Linked DNA regions of Homo sapiens: regions 2, 3, 4 and 5 are each linked to region 1. Evidence: promoter capture Hi-C in 16 types of primary human blood cells and fetal thymus (Javierre and others, 2016). All regions are on one chromosome and are shown on one strand. Each heading gives the region's core, a stretch centred on a gene start or on the middle of the fragment in contact. The rest is flanking DNA. Distances are from core to core; before and after follow the strand shown.

Region 1 (4,014 bases), core at 793-3,292:
AGCATGTTGAATTTGATGAATTGTGTGTGCCAAGCACTGCTTGAAATGCTTTATAATATACTTTTCCTCATCCAGTCTTCATAGCTGATGTTACCACCATTTTGAAGGCTCAAAGATGCTAAACAATAGGTTCTAGGACTGCTGTCAAGTAAGTGGCAGAGCAAGAATTTAAAATCAGGTCTGATTTCCAAGATCATGCTCTTATTGTTATCTCAGCACTTACCTTGGGTGATACAAAGGTGAATAAAAACCTATCCTTGTCTGAACTGCTCAAATAAAGGTCTAGCTCAAATATGATCTTTCTGAAACCTTTCCAACTCCCCAGGAAGAATACATCTTGTTTTCATCTGTACCCCCTCAACATTTTAAGAATACCTCTATAATACCTATAATCTTATTATATTATATAATCTCCCTGGGCCCTTAGAAGTCAGGAATATTCTCTTAACCATCCTTTTGACCCTACAGTGCCTACCACAGTTCTTGACATATAGTAGAAGCTCAATAATGTTTCTTAAAAAGGAGACAGGGTCTCTGTTGCTAAGTCTGGGAGACAAGAAATGCACATAAAGCTAAAAAAAAGTCAAAAGTAGTGTTTAGGAGAATTATATATTTAAGTGCAGTACAGTTTAAAAGAACCAATGAGGGCCGGCCACGGTGGCTCACGCCTGTATTCCCAGCACTTTGGGAGGCCGAAGTGGGTGGATCTGAGGTCAGGAGTTCAAGACCAGCCTGGCCAACATGGCAAAACCCCGTCTCTACTAAAAATACAAAAAATTAGCTGGGCGTGGGGACGGGCACCTGTAGTCCCAGCTACTTGGGAGGCTGAGGCAGGAGAATGGCTTGAACCCGGAGGCAGAGGTTGCAGTGAGCCGAGATTGTGCCATTGCACTCCACCTGGGCAACAAGAGTGAAACTCCATCTCAAACAAACAAAAAAACACCAATGATAGGAGGAAGTACAAGAGGATACAGCTCAGCCAGCTTCCAGGTTTTCACCCATACACACACACACCCCAGTGTGAAAAAGCTGAAACCGTCTACAATGGCTGAAACCACGCTGCTGAGACATTTTTGAATTTTAATTAGTTAGCAACACTTATAAATTAAGTTTCACATAAAACCCAGGATTTCTGGATTTTCCTGAGAAACGAAGACATCTCAGAAACTGGGTGCTCATTCTCCTAGAGAAATGGGTTGGATTTGGGTATCAAATTCTCCTTTCAGATGAACTTAATGCTCACTTATCCATCGTAGTAACTTCCACCATTTGTTTAGGCTCAGCTTGCATAAGATAATTTATTTTCTCTCGCCAGTCTAGGCATCTGGGTTTAAGACCCCTTCTCTAGATACATTACTCACTGCACTATCACACTATGAATTTTCAGGCATCCGTGCTTTGACTTCCACTTTGCCTAGAAAGTCCTTTGCTATCTCCAAAAGTACTCCTACTCCCCTAAGGCACTGCTTCAATTCCTTTCATTAGCTTCTTCTGACCACTCTCTCAACCGTGTCACGCAGCACTGTGGTAATACCTCTATTAAAACCCTTATCAGAGCGTATGCACAAGCTTCTCCTCTTCGCGCTGACGTTCGCTCCTTGAGGCCAGCGGCCCACAACTAACTCATTTCGCGGTTCCAGCTTCACGTCCATGCCCTGGCACCTACACCCAGTCGTTCAGTACCTTTGCGGAAGTCAGTCTTCTTACTTCACGGCAAACCCAAGCTAAACTAATATTACGACCACAGAAGTTGGGCTGAGGTAGAAGTCAAGACTATCCCAATAACTGGATTCTGGCCGAGAAAAAGGCGCGCGCCAGCACCCCAGTCAGTAAAATCTACCGGGCAAAGTTCGCCGCCGCCACTATCCTCCTCTGGCTCTGAAATAGTTCCAATTCTCGCGAGATTCGGCCTGACTACCAGCCCTTCAGCTCCAGTGAGTTGCGGGTTGGTTTCCTCTAGACTCTCGTGGCCACACCGTTCTCCGATACGAGCCTTTCCGGTGCTATGCCCCGGAAGCGGAAGTGCGATCTTCGGGCTGTCAGAGTTGGTCTGTTACTCGGTGGTGGCGGAGTCTACGGAAGCCGTTTTCGCTTCACTTTTCCTGGCTGTAGAGCGCTTTCCCCCTGGCGGGTGAGAGTGCAGAGACGAAGGTGCGAGATGAGCACTATGTTCGCGGACACTCTCCTCATCGTTTTTATCTCTGTGTGCACGGCTCTGCTCGCAGAGGGTGAGAGCGGGTATTTCTCAGACGTTTGATCAGTCCCCGGGAGGAAGGGCCCCGGGGTCCCCTGTGCCACCAGGGGAAAGATCGCGAGCCTTACTTGCTTGAGAGGCTCATCTACTCCACTTCAGGGAATCTCTGGGCAACTCGTGAACAGGAGCAGGAGGGGAGTATGGAGTCGATTGCCGAGTTTTCTTTGGTCTCAGGTAGATTTCACTTGGGTATTTGTGGAGACACCTTCACATCATGTTACTGTTGTTTTGGCTGAAGAGTCAGTTGTATTAGCCTTTGAAAAAAGTTAACTATGGGTAAATACAAAGCGAAAAGTTGGAATTCCTCCTTCTCCAACAGTAACCACTTTGTTTGTTGTGATCATTCCAGTCATTTCTCTATTAACATGTTGCTTTTAATGTTTTAGGCATAACCTGGGTCCTGGTTTACAGGACAGACAAGTACAAGAGACTGAAGGCAGAAGTGGAAAAACAGAGTAAAAAATGTGAGTATGGCAACACATTAGAAATAATTTCAACACGTCAAGCTCATTAAGTCCATGTTCACAATAAATATTTTAAGAGCACCAGCTGATACAAAGATGAACCTGACTTGAAGCCTATTTAGAAATAGAAGACTTTTATGCAAAATGTGTAATACCAACTAGAGGGAAGTGAGGGGCGTAGCAGATACATGTTATGTGCTGTGGTGGTTCTAAAGAAGAGGTTCAATCTGGCGCAGTGGCTTACTCCTGTTAATCCCAGCACTTTGGAAGGCTGAGGCAGGACTGAACTTAGGGGTTTGACACCAGCCTGGGCAACATAGGGAGACCTCGTCCCTACAGAAAAAATTAGCTGGGTATGGTGGTACACACCTATAGTCCCAGCTATTTGGGAGACTGAGGCATGAGGATCCCTTGAGCCCAGGAGATTGAGGCTACAGTGGGCCACGATGGTGTCACTACACTGCCTCCTGGGCAATAGTGAGACTTGTCTTTAAAAAAAAAAGAAGAAGAGGCTTCATTCAGTTGTGAGGAACCATGGTAGCCTTCATGATGCTGATGGCCTTGCAGTTCCTTGTGGATAGTTAGAATTTGGATAGAGAATGAAATGGGGAAAGGAAATTCCAGGTAAAGAAATAACATATGAGCAAAAATATGGAAATCTTAACATTTAAGGCATGTTTGGAGGATGATATGTCATTATGACTGGTGTCAAGGTAAGTGGTGTCTTCAGAGATAAGCCGAGTTTCAGTTGGGTTAGAAAGTTGAAGAGGTGTTTAAGGAAAAGATTAAAAACAAGAAGGGTTTGTTACCTTTGAAATAAAGCAGGAATTCCACAGGACTCAGCTAAAGGTACAGGGTGAATGGTTCCTTATAGGCCTGATTTAGTTTTCTCTCTTCTTTTTTTCCTTATAAGGATTAAATATAACTTTTGTTTCTTAGAATTCCTACAACTTTCTGTATTCTGTGACTTTTTCTTATATCTTCATAGGGGTTTGAAGTTTTTTTTCTTAAATTACCATATTTGATCTACACAGCAACCATTTGTGGTTACTCGTATAAATATTACCTCCATGTCATAGGAAAGAAAATTGAGCCTCAGGATGATAATGACAACTTACGTCACAGAGCAAACAAAGAATTAGAGACCAGACTCAGGCTTTTAAAATTACAGCTTACTGTTCCTTAATTTACTCAGTGTTGATTATGTACCTCAGCATATCTGGGCCAAACTCGTTATCTTTACCTTCACAAACGTGATATTCTTCCAGGATTTCCCTATCTTGGTGATGGGTACCT
Region 2 (4,014 bases), core at 897-3,396, 1.3 Mb before region 1:
AGTGGCGCGATCTCGGCTCACTGAAACCTCCGCCTCCCGGGTTCAAGTGATTCTCCTGCTTCAGCCTCCTGAGTAGCTGAGATTACAGGCACCTACCACCACACCTGGCTAAGTTTTGTATTTTTAGTAGAGATGGGGTTTCACTATATTGGCCAGGCTGGGCTTGATCTCCTGACCTCATGATCCTCCCACCTCGGCCTCCCAACATAATGCTGAATTTTAAAGGAGAAGTCTCTAAGCTCCATTTGGGCGAAGTGCCCTGGCCCATGAGTGCTGAGCACCTGCCCTCATTCCTGTCTTACTCCACTGGGGAAGCCTTTTGACACAGGAAGCAGGAGCCAGCAAGATCCCAAGAGCATCAGAGAAAAGTGAAATCAAGCAGAATGATAAATTCTTAGAGGGGAAGTTAATTTCAGATGTTTTAGTTAGGCGCTTCCAACTAAAGGCTCAATCACTTCAGTTATTCTTCACACCAATTTGGTGACAGAGATGTGATTAAAAGTCAGGTCTCCTGTTATGATTTATGACAGAAGAAAATGGACAGGCACACACAGTATTGTTTTAGCAGGCAATTAAGCACGACATTTCTTTAACGTCTCGTGGTTTGTCTTAAAATGTTATGCACATTTTTTTCATTCTACATGATAACATAACGTCGATGATTTTAATGTAAAAGAAAGTTTCAAATTACTTGTGGTAAAAAGAGGACTCTCCAGGAAGATGCCTCATGCCTCTTGGCATCTTGCCACTTGCCCCAGGCATGCACATGTCCCAGTTTAAAAGACACAGCTTGATTATGGATAAAAAATTATTTTAGTGCTAGGGAATGCTTCCATGGGCTTCTCCTCTCCTCATCCCTTTTCTTATAGTCTACGGCCTGTCATCCCCATATCCAGCCCCAGTCCTACTGAATCAAGCAGGGCCAAATTCCTACTCATCCTCTGAGGTTCGGGTCCATCATCATCTCTTCCAGCCAAGCCTCCTATGACCTTCCAAGTCCAGTTGTTCCCTTCCCTATTGTCTAGTCCACCACATACTAGATCCTGGTCATATTAATATCTAGCACACACCTGCCACATTGCAATCAGTCTATTTGCATATTTACCTCCTCCAGAAAGTAGGACACATACAAGTACTCAATAATATTTGTTAAATGAGTGAACCGAGGTGATGGCTGCAGGCTCCCTGGAGCTAATGGCCCAACCTGTCCCCAGCCCCTCCCAGCTGGGGCTGTGAGGGTGGGAGATAAGTGGTCACTTACTGGCTAGGGGAGGGGCTTCGGAGGTAGTGGGCCTGCACCGCCCTCACGTTGGCTTCGTCCTCCTCGCTTGGGACTACCTGCTCCTCCTCTGTGTCCTTTCTGGTCGCCATGACAACCTGCCAACCTCTGAAAGTTTGGCAAGAAAAAGGCAGTTAGGGAATTAGGTTCCTGAGGTTTTGTTGGGGGAGAAGTTGTGTTGGTGATGTCACCTCAGTGGAACTAGGACTAGGAAGGTCCCGGTGGGCAAAAGACCAGCAAGGAATATCCAGTCAGACCTGGCCCAGCCACTGTTACCGGGACACCAAGAAGTGCACCCCGCCATATTAGGAGCCCACCTTGAAGTGACAATATTGAAGTGCCAGTGTGGCTCCTTCCACAGATGTCAGCAAGGGAGCAGGCAGAGGAGCCAGCAGGTTACCTGATCTCAGCTCAAAAAGTTGAAGAACAATGACTTCCCTGGACCAGCAAGATTTTTCAGTTGAAATTATAGGATGTGCATACACACACGCCCCTCACCTATGCCCATGCGCACACCTTTGTCTCTGCTGGGGAAGACACAGCTGGCCTTCGGTGTCTCTAACCAAGGCCACAGGAGGTAGGGCCTTTGGCTCAGGCGTCATCCTGGAGCCTATTAAAGGACATGAAGGATACCAGCAGCTGGTCCCAGCCATCATGGTTGTGCCCTGACACTCAGGGCAAAGCCGCTGCCCCTTGTATTGTAAGTCCTGGGCTCACCAGGATTGACAAGGGGAGAAGCACACTCACCTCTAACCTGCCTGGATGTTCCCCACCAAGGGCTGAGGGACCCAGATGAAATGACTGAAGCTGAAGCTCCGGCCAGTGAGACAGGAACCAGCCACCTCCTTCCTCAGGGCTTCTTCTCCTAGGGGCAGGACAGCTGTTAACAGGAAACCTTAGCCACCCTCTAAATTTAGCCTCTGGCCCCATAGGCTGGCAGATTTCTGGGAGGAAGGAATGCAGGCTCTGGACCCAGGCCCCAAAGCAGTCCTCACTTAACTCTTTCCCTCCTGGCTGATTCTCCAGACGCTTACATTTAGCAGCAGAATTGGAAGACGTTTGTGCTTGGTAGATGGAGAATCTAAAGAACAGCTTTTCTCTGGGTTCTCTCTTCAGACCCTCTTGCCTGGGACAGCCTATTCAAAGTTCTTCCAGAAGAGAGTCTAAATCCAAAGATATAGAAGAATAAACAAACTTACCACAGCCGCATGTCAACTAGAGAGGCCTAAAAAAAGGACCAGATATATAGAATGGAAAGGGTACTCAACAGATAGATATTGGGAGAGCACTGTGGTACAATTAAAGAGTAGTCATTGCTTGTGACCAGGATTACATTTCTTTTTCTTTTTTTTTAGACAGGGTCTCGCTCTGTTGCCCTGGTGAAAGTGCAGTGGTGCCATCACAGCTCACTGCGGCCTCAACCTCTCAGGGTCAGGTGATTCTCCCACCTCAGCCTCCTGAGTAGCTGGGAGTACAGGCACATGCCACCACACCCAGATAATTTTTAAATTTTTTGTAGAGATGGGGTCTCACTGTGTTGCCCAGGCTGGTCTCGAGCTCCTGGGCTGAAGTGATCCATCCACCTCCGTCCACCAAAGTGCTGGGATTACAGGTGTGAGCCACCGTGCCCTGCCTGCATTTCTTTTAATAGACATGTCTCAGGATGGTCAACTGGACAGTTGTGCTCACCCTCCACATTTCCTCCCCTCTACTCACACCCCAAGGTGATAATGGATTGGCAACCCTGGGTGACTTAAGAATTCCATGAGCTTCATAAATGTCAAATAAGCTGTCTTACCCTACTAACCCCTCTACCATCACAATGATCAAAGCAAAGCCAAATAGCCCACACCTCTCATCCCACACATACCATAGTCATCCTTTCATCCATTTATCCATCCATTTACCAACTTAAAATATTCATTGATTACCTACTACATATGACACTTTACTTGACCAAAATTGGCAAAACACATAGCTTAAAGTTGTCTTTCTTCCTAGTTAGGTGGAATGATGCCTGGTATATCGTATCATTAGAAATGGCTGAATGAATGAGCTCACTGTTTATTAGGAGGAATGAGACACAGACCAAAAATAACTCAAGCATAAGAGAGAATGTAGTTAGTGTCCTAAAAGAGATCCAGAGTGCTGTGTGAGTTCAAAGGTGAGAAAGAGCCCTTCTGACTGAAGAAATCAGGAAAGACTTCATAGAAGCAGTGGTGATATATGAGCTGACTTCTAAAGGACAAGTAAGATTATAATAGCAGATATAGTAGGGGAAGGGAATTACCGAGGGGGTGGCATCAATAAAGTTTTGGGGGTAAGGAAGTATGAGTTCTGGGTATGAAAATATGTCTAACTTGGTCAGAGCATAAATTACGTATTCTGGAAGGTAGACTGTGTTTGAGAACAAATGCTAGAATACCTTAAAAGCTAATTTGTTAGGTTCTGCAGAGTCAGTGATAGGACCCAAGCAGACAAGTAATTAGGAAGACTAATTTGGCAAAGATATTATAAAATGTTGGGGCTGAACAATTATTACATATAATAAGAGAATTAACAAGGTGCCTGAGTGAAATGTAATAAACAGAAAACAACAAATTTTGTATGTCAACCAAACCTAGCAGTCAAAAGGATTAATAACAATAAGTCATGTAGGATACTATGAATTCATAACACAAAGAAATGCTAGGGGAAATATTTGCAATGCTTATCACATCCAAAAGTTCCTTTCC
Region 3 (4,014 bases), core at 615-3,114, 1.3 Mb before region 1:
CCTGTAATGCACATGAGGCCCAGCTCCCTTGAGGGTCCACCTGAGAGCAAATCCTTCCCCTCTGTCCCCTGCTGCCCTGCAGGAACCGGGAAGCCTATGAGGAGCCACCAGAGCAGCTAAGAGAACTTTCCAGAGAGAGGGAGGAGGAGGATGACTACAGGCAAGAAGAGCAGAGGAGCACTGGGCGTGAATCCCCGGACCACCTCGACCAGTGACAGGCCAGCAGCAGAGGGCGGCGGAGGAAGGGTTAGGGGTTCATTCTCCCGCTTCCTGGCCTCCCTTCTCCTTTCTAAGCCCTGTTCTCCTGTCCCTCCATCCCAGACATTGATGGGGACATTTCTTCCCCAGTGTCAGCTGTGGGGAACATGGCTGGCCTGGTAAGGGGGTCCCTGTGCTGATCCTGCTGACCTCACTGTCCTGTGAAGTAACCCCTCCTGGCTGTGACACCTGGTGCGGGCCTGGCCCTCACTCAAGACCAGGCTGCAGCCTCCACTTCCCTCGTAGTTGGCAGGAGCTCCTGGAAGCACAGCGCTGAGCATGGGGCGCTCCCACTCAGAACTCTCCAGGGAGGCGATGCCAGCCTTGGGGGGTGGGGGCTGTCCTGCTCACCTGTGTGCCCAGCACCTGGAGGGGCACCAGGTGGAGGGTTTGCACTCCACACATCTTTCTTGAATGAATGAAAGAATAAGTGAGTATGCTTGGGCCCTGCATTGGCCTGGCCTCCAGCTCCCACTCCCTTTCCAACCTCACTTCCCGTAGCTGCCAGTATGTTCCAAACCCTCCTGGGAAGGCCACCTCCCACTCCTGCTGCACAGGCCCTGGGGAGCTTTTGCCCACACACTTTCCATCTCTGCCTGTCAATATCGTACCTGTCCCTCCAGGCCCATCTCAAATCACAAGGATTTCTCTAACCCTATCCTAATTGTCCACATACGTGGAAACAATCCTGTTACTCTGTCCCACGTCCAATCATGGGCCACAAGGCACAGTCTTCTGAGCGAGTGCTCTCACTGTATTAGAGCGCCAGCTCCTTGGGGCAGGGCCTGGGCCTCATGGCTTTTGCTTTCCCTGAAGCCCTAGTAGCTGGCGCCCATCCTAGTGGGCACTTAAGCTTAATTGGGGAAACTGCTTTGATTGGTTGTGCCTTCCCTTCTCTGGTCTCCTTGAGATGATCGTAGACACAGGGATGATTCCCACCCAAACCCACGTATTCATTCAGTGAGTTAAACACGAATTGATTTAAAGTGAACACACACAAGGGAGCTTGCTTGCAGATGGTCTGAGTTCTTGTGTCCTGGTAATTCCTCTCCAGGCCAGAATAATTGGCATGTCTCCTCAACCCACATGGGGTTCCTGGTTGTTCCTGCATCCCGATACCTCAGCCCTGGCCCTGCCCAGCCCATTTGGGCTCTGGTTTTCTGGTGGGGCTGTCCTGCTGCCCTCCCACAGCCTCCTTCTGTTTGTCGAGCATTTCTTCTACTCTTGAGAGCTCAGGCAGCGTTAGGGCTGCTTAGGTCTCATGGACCAGTGGCTGGTCTCACCCAACTGCAGTTTACTATTGCTATCTTTTCTGGATGATCAGAAAAATAATTCCATAAATCTATTGTCTACTTGCGATTTTTTAAAAAATGTATATTTTTATATATATTGTTAAATCCTTTGCTTCATTCCAAATGCTTTCAGTAATAATAAAATTGTGGGTGGAAATTCTTATTTCTTTTTTAATGTGGATTTTGTTTGCAGTAAGATAAAGCTTGGGTCTCATGGATCATCTCTACTCACCATAGCACTCTTCTGCTTCCTAGGGGAGGTGAGACAAGGTAACAGATTTGAGAATCCTGGGGTCCCTCTGCTTGTGGCCGCAGTAGGGTCAGGCAGTGCCTCTAGTGGTTGCTGGGAATAGGACAGATTCCTGCCTGCTGGTGGAGGTATATTCCAGGAGTCTGCAGTGTCAGGACACCAGGAGGCCTGGGTGTCGGTCCACGTGCTTGAAGGAAGATGGTGGAGATGCTCTAGCCAGTTCTGCTTCCTATGATGCCCCTTCTGAGAAAGGGGCGGGGCAGTCCTCTTGTTCTGTCACAGAGAACTGTGACGCTTCCTCCTCCAAGGCAACTTCGCTCCGCTGTGGGCTCTTGGCTTTGACATGGACTCTCCTGCGAGATATTCAAGGTCTGTTCTTCAGTGTCCTTTCCTGTGCTCCCTCCTGTCCGAGCACTTGTCACACAGTACTGTGTGCCTATTATACCTGTGTACAGGTCTGTCTCTGCCTCACCCTGTATGATTTGTAAGGATAGGAACTGTAGCTTCTTTATGGCCTGGCATGTGTTGACCCTTGACAAAGGTTTGTTAAATGAATAACATTTGGTATCACAGTATCTTGCCCAAGGACATCTCCTAGCTCTCTAGATACTCTGAGGTGCCTTCCAGTCCTCACGGTGCAAGGTTCCACAAGCATGTTCTTGAGGGAGCCACGGAAGCAGAGGCGGCCACCTTCCCCCAGGTTTGACTTGACTTCTCTCTGCCCCTCAAAGGACTCTGAAGGTTCACCTGCCTTAGCTCCAGGCTTAGGGAAGAAAAGGAGGGAAATCGAGACCCACTGCATTAATTCAACAACAAATATTTTGTGAGCATCTACTACGTGCCAAGCAGTGTGCTGTTTGCAGAGTATATAAAAGTCACTAAGAAACTGTTATTCAGGAGGAGCTAAAATCTAATGGCGGTCACAGACATAGAAACATAATTACATGAGCAAGAGAAGGGGCTACAGGACACAGGAGGGCCTGAGTAACTCAGCCTAAGGGAGTTCAGGAAAGCTTCAGAGAGGAGGTTGCATTTGGGCTGCATCTTGAAGAAGAATGAGGAGTTTTACAAGTGGAAAAGGGCTGGTGCTGACATTTCTTCTGTCCTCCAATGCATGTTTCTATTACTTGGGTGTCAAATCATATTATCACTCAGTAAGACTACAGTTTCCTGCTGAATTTATTTCGGTCCACAGACTCTGGGAATTGGACTGTTGTAGGTTCTTATACAATCAAAATTAGCCCAGCAATGCAGTCTCCTTAGAATGTTAGGCATCCCTTCCCAAATTATGGTTTCCAGCTGCTGGTTCAAAGACTTTATGGTGTTTTAGAAGAGAGACAAATGCTACCCATTAATTGAGGGAAGATTGTGTACTATAAACCCTTATTAGGCACTTCAGACAGTTTTCCATATAATCCCCACTCGCAGTTTCAAATACTTGGGCATATGCCAATGTTAGGTGTTCATGTTATCACCTAAGGAGGGACTCTGGCTGCCCAGAGAGGAATCCATGAACTGATACACAGCTTGGTAAATTAGCCACTCTTCAGGATCTTGTTATTTATTTATTTATTTATTTTTAATTTTACTTTAAGTTCTGGGATACACGTGCAGGACGTGCAGGTTTGTTACATATGTATACATGTGCCATGGTGCACCTATCTACCCGTCATCTAGGTTTTAAGCCCCACATGCATTACATATTTGTCCTAATGCTCTCCCTCCCAAAAAGTCTTGTTCTTAAGCTGCTTTTGTGACACAGTGACAGGGCCTCAGCTCTCAAATGCAGAGTCACATTAACCAAGCTCACAGTGCCTGATGTACAATGCTTATAGCAGCAGCACTTGCTCTGGGCCAGGTACTGTTCTAGGCCTTTTCCATAGAACATCTCATAATCTTCACCCTATGAGATAAGTGCTATTATTCTTCCCATTTTACAGATGAGGAAGCTGAGACACAGTGAATTTAAGCAATTTGGATCAACACAGAATGTCAATTTGCTATTTATAGCTGTCAAGTAGACCAGCCTTTCTGTCCACCTGACCCAGGCCATCTCACCCCATGGGCACTATGCCCTCAGTTGCTTACTGGGCATGGAATCAGAATAAGAGAAGTCGGCTACTATCAAGGAGCTCTCATCTTTGATGGCAGTCTGTATCAGTAGGTGTCATATCCCCTGTGGAAATTCTGGAAGATTCTCTGGTCTTGGCTCCA
Region 4 (4,014 bases), core at 721-3,220, 1.1 Mb before region 1:
CTGAGACAATGTGTTTCCTCACTCACCTCCAACAAGGAAGAGAGAAGTCATTTCTCTAATTATATAATACAAGTCTTTGTAGCCTGAACTTTCTGACTTAGCTTGTCATGTTCTGATTGGCTTAGATGAATAAGGAATAGGCTTGGAGTTACTGCCCTCTGATTGGCTTAGATGAATAAGGAATAGGCCTGGAGTTACTGCTCTCTGAGTCATAGCTGTTGCATAGAGGGCAGTATATGACACCCAGGCAAATTCAGGTTCTGTTGGGAAGGACAGGAAGAAGGGTTGATTCAGAGTTTATGTTATGCACTTTAGCTTTTTATTTCTTCTTCCTAATCTGTAAAGTGGGGAGAGAGACATGTGCAGCCTTGGCAGACAGAGGAGGTCCAGGATCTCACAGAAAAAGAGAGACTTTTGCATCTGTCAAAAGAAAGAAACTGGCTGGGCCTGGTGGCTCATGCCTCTAATCCCAGCACTTTGGGAGGCCAAGGCGGGTGTATCACCTGAGGTCGGGAGTTTGAGACCGGCCTGACCAACATGGAGAAACCTCATATCTACTAAAAATGAAAAATTAGCCGGGCATGCTGGCACATGCCTGTAATCCCTGCTACTCGGGAGGCTGAGGCGGGAGAATCGCCTGAACCCGGGAGGCGGAGGTTGCAGTGAGCCGAGATCACGCCACTGCACTCCAGCTAAAATCTCTCTGGCACCAAGGAGGAAGGTCACTCCTAATATCAAAGGGACCCATACGACAAAACTGCTGCATGGATGAGGTAATGTGAATGTCAGTGGCTGTATTTTGTTAACACAGATATCTGTCTGCAACCAATGAGACTAAGCAGCCTTGTGGGGGAACTAGGGAAGAAGGCAGAAAAATAAAACCCTGCTGGCCCTGGTTTTTGTGTTTTAGAAATCCAGTCTTTTGGCCTGTGAGAGAATGATCACAGAAGATTCTAAAACTGTCTCCCTTTTGGAAGTCACGTCTATAACATTTGAGAAATCAGCCCTTGAATATAAAAAAAACAAATTGGGACAGTGCCATTGAGGGCAAAAGGAGCCTTGGTTCAGGATGAGGGAGGGAAGAGGAGAGGACCAGCAAGAATAATGTCTTGGTGTCAAAGCCTCACCTGCTCTCCAGGCAGACAGATTCTCTGGTTGGGGGGCTTTCTTGCTTGTCATTCTATGAATAAGGAACTTGTTCAAAAGCTGTTCATAGTTGGCCATGGAGATGAGCTGTAGGAGAAGTTCTTAGTTAATGTTTGTAATAACCCCGAGGGACCTAGTGATTGTAAGGTTGATGGGGATCCGGCCATCTGTTCTCCCCCAAGAGGAAGGGAGCAGAGTTTATTTTCAATCGTTGTTGTTGCTGCCAAGAACCTGAGAAACTCGGGGAATGTGGAGCATTTGAGGCATGCTCAATTAGTTTGTGTTAGATATACAGAGTGTGAGCCCCTTGTAGCCACAGACTATACTTCCAGGCCACCAACTCTGATTGCTAAAAATGGAAGGTGACCAAAGAGACCAGGCAAAGCTATAAAGCTATTGGGGCTTTGCTTCTGCTTTTGAATGTGCTTTTGGTGTGCTCCACCTGTCATCTTGTATTCCTTCAGGAAGAGCTTGGTCTAGGGATTTTAAACATCAGAGTAAATTGTTACAAAAGTCGAATGGAGAAGGTGGGAAAATCCAAAGCAAGCAATTTTTCATTTAACCTTAGAAATAAACTGGAGTTTTAATATAAAAGTAACGGTAACTTAGAACTACCCATACCACCCCACAAAACAAAAGCTCTACACTTTCATCTATTTTTTCTACTTCTGTTGGTGGCCTCATCAACTGCAGGTAATTAATATAAGTCCTAGGAATCATCACAGACTTCTCTTACTTTCTCACACCAGTACAGGAGTCAAATGTCCAAGTCCCAGAGTCAGACCTCCTGAATTCAAATCCCGTCTTTGCCACTTTCCAGGTCTGTGAATTAAACAAGTTATGTAGCCTTTCTGAGCTGTGGTTTACCCATCTTTGAATATGGATAACAACCCTATCTGCTTCATAGAAAGAAATTAATATTAGAGAATATTGTAATTATCCAAGCAATTACTGAGTCCTGTTGATTTTACCTTTTCAATATCTGTTGCATTTGTTATCTATGGCAATCTCAAAGTGTGTGCAATGAGATGAAATGTTTTATTTGTGGGGGTAGGATGCTTGTGAGAAAAGACATCAGAGAGCAAAAGAATAGTGGGAAATGGAAAAGGGACAGACATGAACAACTCAGGGTTTTTGAAGAGGGCGATGGGTGAGACAGGCCTGGGGTGGAGGGCATGAAAGATGGCAATAGAGAGAAGGAGGCTGCCATGGGGGTGGGGGGAGCATGAAAGGGTAGCAATAGAGAGAAGGAGCCTGCTGTGGAGGGCATGAAAGGATAGCAATAGAGAGAAGGAGGCTGCCATGGGGGTCATGAAAGGGTAGCAATAGAGAGAAGAGAGGCTGGGAGGCTGACCTGAGTGTGGAACTTTGGAGAGAGATATATACTGACATTTGAATGACCTGGGTGTCTTGTTGAAAGTACAAATTAGGATTCAGCACAATTTAGGTGGGGCCTGAGATTCTGCATTTCTAGCAGCCTCCCAGATGACATCAACTGTGCTGGATTTTAAATGACTCAAAGTATCAAGGGAGTAGAGCCAATCCTTGCATTGTCCTTTGACCTATGTAGCCATCTTTGGAACTCTTACAGATCTGTTTGCATTCTGCTCTCATGGAGCTTGTCCCAAAATAATTCTTCATCTTCCCCTAGCCCTCTTGTAGATATTCACATAAGTACCAGAGCAAGGAGAAGAAGGGTTGTATTGAAAAAAGCTAATATATACATATTTTGAAATGATTTTAAAAGCAGATCTAAATGCTTGAATGTTTGGTATCAACTGAGCCATAAAACATGAAGAAATATTTGATTTTCTGAAATCCAGCTTTTTCTATGAACAAGTTCTTGAGAGGACAGCAAAAAGGCCCATGGCTCATCTTAAATCTGCTAACTCCTGTCAGCTTGTAAAGTGAAATAGATTACACTCAATTACAGCTTACACAATCACATAACCAAAGAATTTGGTTAGCACGTGTATGTTCAAATTCCCCCAGACTGTAAACTCCTTGAGGATAGCAATCGTGTCTTTTTCTTTTTCTTTTCTTTTCTTTTTTTTTTTTTTGAGATGGAGTCTCATTCTGTCACCCAGGCTGGAGTGCAGTGGCACGATCTCGGCTCATTGCAACCTCTGCCTCCCAGGTTCAAGCAAGTCTCCTGTCTCAGCCTCCCAAGTAGCTGGGACTACAGGTGCCCACCACTATGCCCGGCCAATTTTTGTATTTTTAGTAGAGACGGAGTTTCACCATATTGGTCAGGCTGGTCTCAAACTCCTAGACCTCAGGTGATCCACCTGCCTTGGCCTCCTAAAGTGCTGGGATTACAGGCGTGAGCCATTGCGCCCGGCCAATCATGTCTTTTTCATCTTTTTATTATTATCATAATTATTGGCTTTTTGAGAGAAGGGTCTTGCGTTGTCACCCAGGCTGAAATGCAGTGGGGCAATCATGGCTCACTGCAGATTTTACCTCCCAGGCTCAAGGGATTCTCCCACCTCAGCCTCCAAAGTTGTTGGGACTACAGGTATGTGCCACCATGTCCGGCTAATTTCTTTTTTTTTTTTTAAGATGGGATCTTCCTATGTTGCTCAGGCTGGTCTTTGAGCTCCTGGCTTCAAGCAATCTACCACTTTGGCCTCCCAAAGTGCTGAGATTACAGGTGTCAGCTACTGCATCTGGCCTCCTTTTTGTCTTTGTTTCCTTAACACTAAGTACATACTAGGGACCCAAATATTTGTTAGGAAAAAAAATGAATGTCTTTGGCATTAAGAAAAGTAAATGATCTCATCATGTCATATCATGTACAAGTGATAAGAGAAATAATATGCAAAGCTTCAGAGTGTGCCCTCCTTATCCAGAAGAGGTGGAAAGATT
Region 5 (4,014 bases), core at 512-3,011, 1.1 Mb before region 1:
GCGGGGTAGTGGGTGGTAGGATGGCTTTGGGATGAAACTGTTCCGCCTCAGATCCTCAGGCATTGAGGAGCCTGCAACCTAGATCCCTCACATGTGCAGTTCACAACAGGGTTTGTGCTCCTATGAGAATCTAATGCCGCTGCTGTGACAGCGGGCGGAGCTCAGGTGGTAATGCTTGCTCACCTGCCGCTCACCTCCTGCTGTGCAGCCCAGTTCCTGACAGGCCATGGACCAGTATGGTCCGTGACCTGGGGGTTGGGGACCCCTGATCTACACTACTGCACTGTAGGCTCTAAGGGAACTTAAAAACAGAAAAATAATGGAGAGAAGGTGTTTGTAGAACACAGACATGTCAGCAAAGGCACTGAGTATCTACTCCTGAGTGGTTACCTTTCCCTTTCCCTTCAGTTGCTCTCAGCCATGCTTTCGGTGTCACAATCTTTTGGTGGTTCTCCTCCTCCTGGCAACTCACTCTCGATTTCCCACAGGACATCGTCTTCCTCCTCCAAGTTGCTGGAGATATGGCACTTCTTGAACCCTTGGACGATGGACTCACTTGAGATGCTATTCCACGCGACCATGACCCACTCCAGAAAGAGGCCCAGGGGTGGCTTCTTAGCATTCCCGGTTGGGCTCAGCGCCAGGTTCCCAGCCAGAAGCCAGTTGGAGTACTGGGCCCGCACACTGTCATTCAGTGGCTTGTAGACCACGACATCCAGCACCTGAAGCTGTGAGGTCAGACCCCCTGGGATGATCACCATGTCAGTGTTCATGCTTTCCATGGAGTTCTTCACGGAATCTGTGGCATGGCCCCGGAAGCCATTCAAGATCAGCATCCCTCGCTGCTTGGGCACTGCTCCTGTCCTCCGTCTCCACACCACTTCCAACCAGTCCTGCATCAAGTCTTCAGTCATCCACCCATACCGGTGGCAGCGAATTTCCATCCCACTGGGAAACTTCCCCGGGGGGATATATGTTCCCCTCAAAATGATGTACGGTGGTAACTTCCTCCCATCAGCCAAGACACCAAGCATTGCTGTGATTTTCAGTTTTTCCCTGCCTGGTGTCTTGACCAAGACAGGCTTTTCGCCCTGGTTATCAACAGTTACCCGTGATGGCACCTCTAAACAAATGGGCGTCTCATCTGCATTCCCCATCTGAGCTACCTCATAGTCATGCGCCCTGCGCAGAGCCAGGACACTGCGCTGGTAAGTGACGAGTTTCTCAGTCAGGTCTTCCGGCAGGTGCTGGGGCACGGGCACTTTATGCCTCAGAGACAGGTCATACCTTCTCATCATTCTTCGACACCAACCCAAGCTTGCCTTGAACCCTTTCTCTGGAATGTTCATTTCCTGGGCGATTTCGAGAGCTTTCAGCTGCATCGCCTCCCGGGTGATGGGGTCCCCTTTGGCCTGCATGTATCTGACATATTCGGCCACACGCTGGTCCACCAGAGCAAACCTCCCATTCTTGGGGCCTCGGAATGCCCGCCGCATGGCGTGGGCGTTTTGAAGCTGTGGCTTCACTTTGCGCCAGTCTCGAACGTTTTTTTCCAATACTCCAAACTGCTTGGCAGCCTGGCAGTTGTTGGTACTCTCAGCATATTCCACTACCATCAGCTTGAACCCTGCGTCGTAACTGCGGCGCATGCCCCGGCTGAACTGAAACTTCCCAGCTATGTCATCAGCCGAGAGGTCATACCCTGGGAAGCCCATGGCCATGTAGAAGGGGTACCCCTCACTCCACTCGGGCAGCTCTGTGATATCCCGAGGCAGACGGAGGCCAAAGCTGTCAAAGTGCTGAGGCTGAGGAAACTGGGAGGTAGCATTCATTGGGTTTGGCCAGTCTGGAGGCTTTACGTCAGATTCTTCATTTTCTGGGAGACAAATAGTGAGGGGCAAAAATAATGCCAGTAAGTAAAATGGCTTATACCCTGATTTTTGGGGGTTGAAATGCTAAGAATACCTTAATCTGAAGTTCACCAAAAGTAGTAACTTTAATAACAGGTAACATTGCCTAAGTCCTTTTCCATATGCCAATTTATGTGGACTACCCACACCTAGTTCTCTTAATAGAGTAACTCTAAGTATCACTGTTCCTTCTTTGCAGATGAAGAAGGGGAGGCTACAGAGGTTACATAATGCACCAAGGTAGCCAAGCCAGAAAGTGGCAGAGCTGGGAACTCAACAGAGGAACCAAGCTTGGACCAAATAATTTGGGGGCCATGTTTGCATCAAAATACTTTTTATGTGAATGAGAAGCCAAATGTTAACCATACTACCATATAATATTACAGAGATGCATCATGGCCTGAATCATATCCCTTTAGAACCAAGAAAACCTACAGCAAAAACCACACTTAGCAAAGTTAAGCTTATAAGGCAGAAAATTAGTTCTTGCACATTAATGGTGCAACCAGGTTTCACTTTATATTTAGAAGGTGGTCACAGAAGTTGAATATGATTTGGGGAAATTACCCTATCTCACCCAAACTAAAATGTCATCAGTTGTAGGATGCATCATTATGTGCCATTAAGAAAGAAAACACTACTAATTAAGCTATGACATGCCACTGATTTTAAGAGGCATTCTCAATTTCAGAAACAGTAAAGCAATGGGAGAAAAACATGTCTCAGAGTCAGTGAAATATGGCATTTTAAACTCTTACTTCCGGAGAAAAGATAAAACTATTTTGGCCGTCTGGAGGCAATGCTATATTTATTCAACTGTGGCCTCAATAACCATTTTTCTTGACAAAGGACTAGGTACTTCTTAGATACATTTGCTCAAATGTATGCTATGATTGCTATTGCTTTTTCTATCCAGTATGAGATGGACAGGGAGCCAGGTAACTCAGGAAGTGTGCTTCCTCTCACTATTCTTAGTTTGCAGAGGCACATGGTACGCCACTGAGGGAGCCCTGTTCAGCCAGAAGGTGCACTAGACCAAATGCTGCACAAGCCTCATTTTGCTTCATCCACAAACAAGGTCATACATCAAGTCTTGTTACTCAGAGCTGATAGAGGAAGAATGGAAGCTCTGAGGTAAAAGCAGTTGCCTGTCACACACTGTCACACATTTAGCACTGCAAAGAGGGAGATTTCAAAACTCCAAAACCCATAATCCTTCTACCTCTTAAATACCCCGTGGAATGTACACTGAAAATCCCACTCCACAATGTTCCCAGCTGGATGGACGCTGAACTGCTTTACTTGTAGTACCTGCAGAGGTGCCTCCTTGGAGCTGCCACTCGTCAGAATTCTGAGACTCCTCCTCCCCTTCCAAACGGGTGATCATGTCTGGCTTAGGGAATGGGAATTCTGTTTATAGGAAATAAAATAGGTAACAGCTGTGTGTTACTGTCCTGGAGCACTACCAAAATAAGTACTTCAAAATACTTAAGAGCCACTCTCCCCTTCTTTGTGAAAAACAAGGGGAAAAAGGCTCAGGGATACTTAAAGAAAAAAGATAATGGAAAATAGGTCTGTCTAAAGGAATGGGTAGATCTCTCCTAATGAGGGATGGTATTGGCACCAACAATAAAAGAACTGCATTTAGCAGGGAGAAGGGTGAATGCAGCTGCTGATCCAATTAACATTTTGGTACCTGTATAAGCAAACTGGGAAATCTCTTCAAATGATTACATTCTGCTGATAAGATGTGTGATATCAATTTGGGGTGGAAGTTGGGGAGAGGAGCAAACAGTCTTTGGGAGGGTATGTCCCCAAACTTCTGAGGCTGACAGGGTAACATTAACGCCTGCCTTCTCTCGTAAGGAACAGTGAGGCACAGGCCCAGATCCATGGTGACATTTCTAAGGTTACATGGTTTTTATCCTTAAATGTGAATGCCTGGGTTGAATGGGGGCAGTTCTGAGGCAGCACGGATTGCCGAGTAGGGTGACACAATATTGATATACTGCCCAAATCAAAAATTGGAATAAATGGGCACAGACATTGAGGAGGCAGAGTCTAAGTTCAGGAGAGAGGGACATTGGATATACCAGAGAAGAGA

The links. The method cuts DNA at HindIII sites, captures the fragments that hold promoters and counts their contacts. A CHiCAGO score of 5 or more calls a contact.
Region 2: the fragment with the promoter of STYXL2 here is called in contact with the fragment with the promoter of TMCO1 in region 1 in 1 of 17 cell types (M0 macrophages); the score reaches 7.0 in M0 macrophages.
Region 3: the fragment with the promoter of GPA33-AS1 here is called in contact with the fragment with the promoter of TMCO1 in region 1 in 1 of 17 cell types (M1 macrophages); the score reaches 5.7 in M1 macrophages.
Region 4: a contact is called between a fragment that was not itself captured here and the fragment with the promoter of TMCO1 in region 1, in 1 of 17 cell types (M2 macrophages). The highest score is 6.1, in M2 macrophages.
Region 5: a fragment that was not itself captured here is called in contact with the fragment with the promoter of TMCO1 in region 1 in 1 of 17 cell types (M0 macrophages); the score reaches 5.1 in M0 macrophages.

What each region holds. Positions count from the first base shown.
Region 1 is chr1:165,766,896-165,770,909 of GRCh38, reverse strand. It overlaps TMCO1 (transmembrane and coiled-coil domains 1), which reads left to right and starts at 2,042. Exons shown (of 7, transcript NM_019026.6): 1 at 2,042-2,228; 2 at 2,641-2,718. The coding sequence starts at 2,159. It overlaps TMCO1-AS1 (TMCO1 antisense RNA 1), which reads right to left and starts at 1,981. Exons shown (of 3, transcript NR_125374.1): 1 at 1,535-1,981. RefSeq lists enhancers at 1,079-1,754, 1,755-2,431. The HindIII fragment of the contact is 3,297 bases long and covers 1,572-4,014 here.
Region 2 is chr1:167,092,207-167,096,220 of GRCh38, reverse strand. STYXL2 (serine/threonine/tyrosine interacting like 2) reads right to left here and starts at 2,146. Exons shown (of 6, transcript NM_001080426.3): 1 at 2,027-2,146; 2 at 1,262-1,387. The coding sequence starts at 1,371. The HindIII fragment of the contact is 6,143 bases long and covers 1-4,014 here.
Region 3 is chr1:167,050,535-167,054,548 of GRCh38, reverse strand. GPA33-AS1 (GPA33 antisense RNA 1) reads right to left here and starts at 1,864. Exons shown (of 6, transcript XR_922249.3): 1 at 1,783-1,864. It overlaps GPA33 (glycoprotein A33), which reads left to right. Exons shown (of 7, transcript NM_005814.3): 7 at 83-1,713. The coding sequence ends at 215. The HindIII fragment of the contact is 1,060 bases long and covers 1,756-2,815 here.
Region 4 is chr1:166,898,585-166,902,598 of GRCh38, reverse strand. It overlaps a transcript of ILDR2 not described here. Among named protein-coding and RNA genes, the nearest start is that of TADA1, 24 kb to the right of the region's middle. RefSeq lists an enhancer at 103-603. The HindIII fragment of the contact is 4,008 bases long and covers 1-3,974 here.
Region 5 is chr1:166,846,800-166,850,813 of GRCh38, reverse strand. It overlaps POGK (pogo transposable element derived with KRAB domain), which reads right to left. Exons shown (of 6, transcript NM_017542.5): 4 at 3,222-3,320; 5 at 391-1,876. The coding sequence ends at 405. Among named protein-coding and RNA genes, the nearest start is that of POGK, 9.3 kb to the right of the region's middle. The HindIII fragment of the contact is 883 bases long and covers 1,320-2,202 here.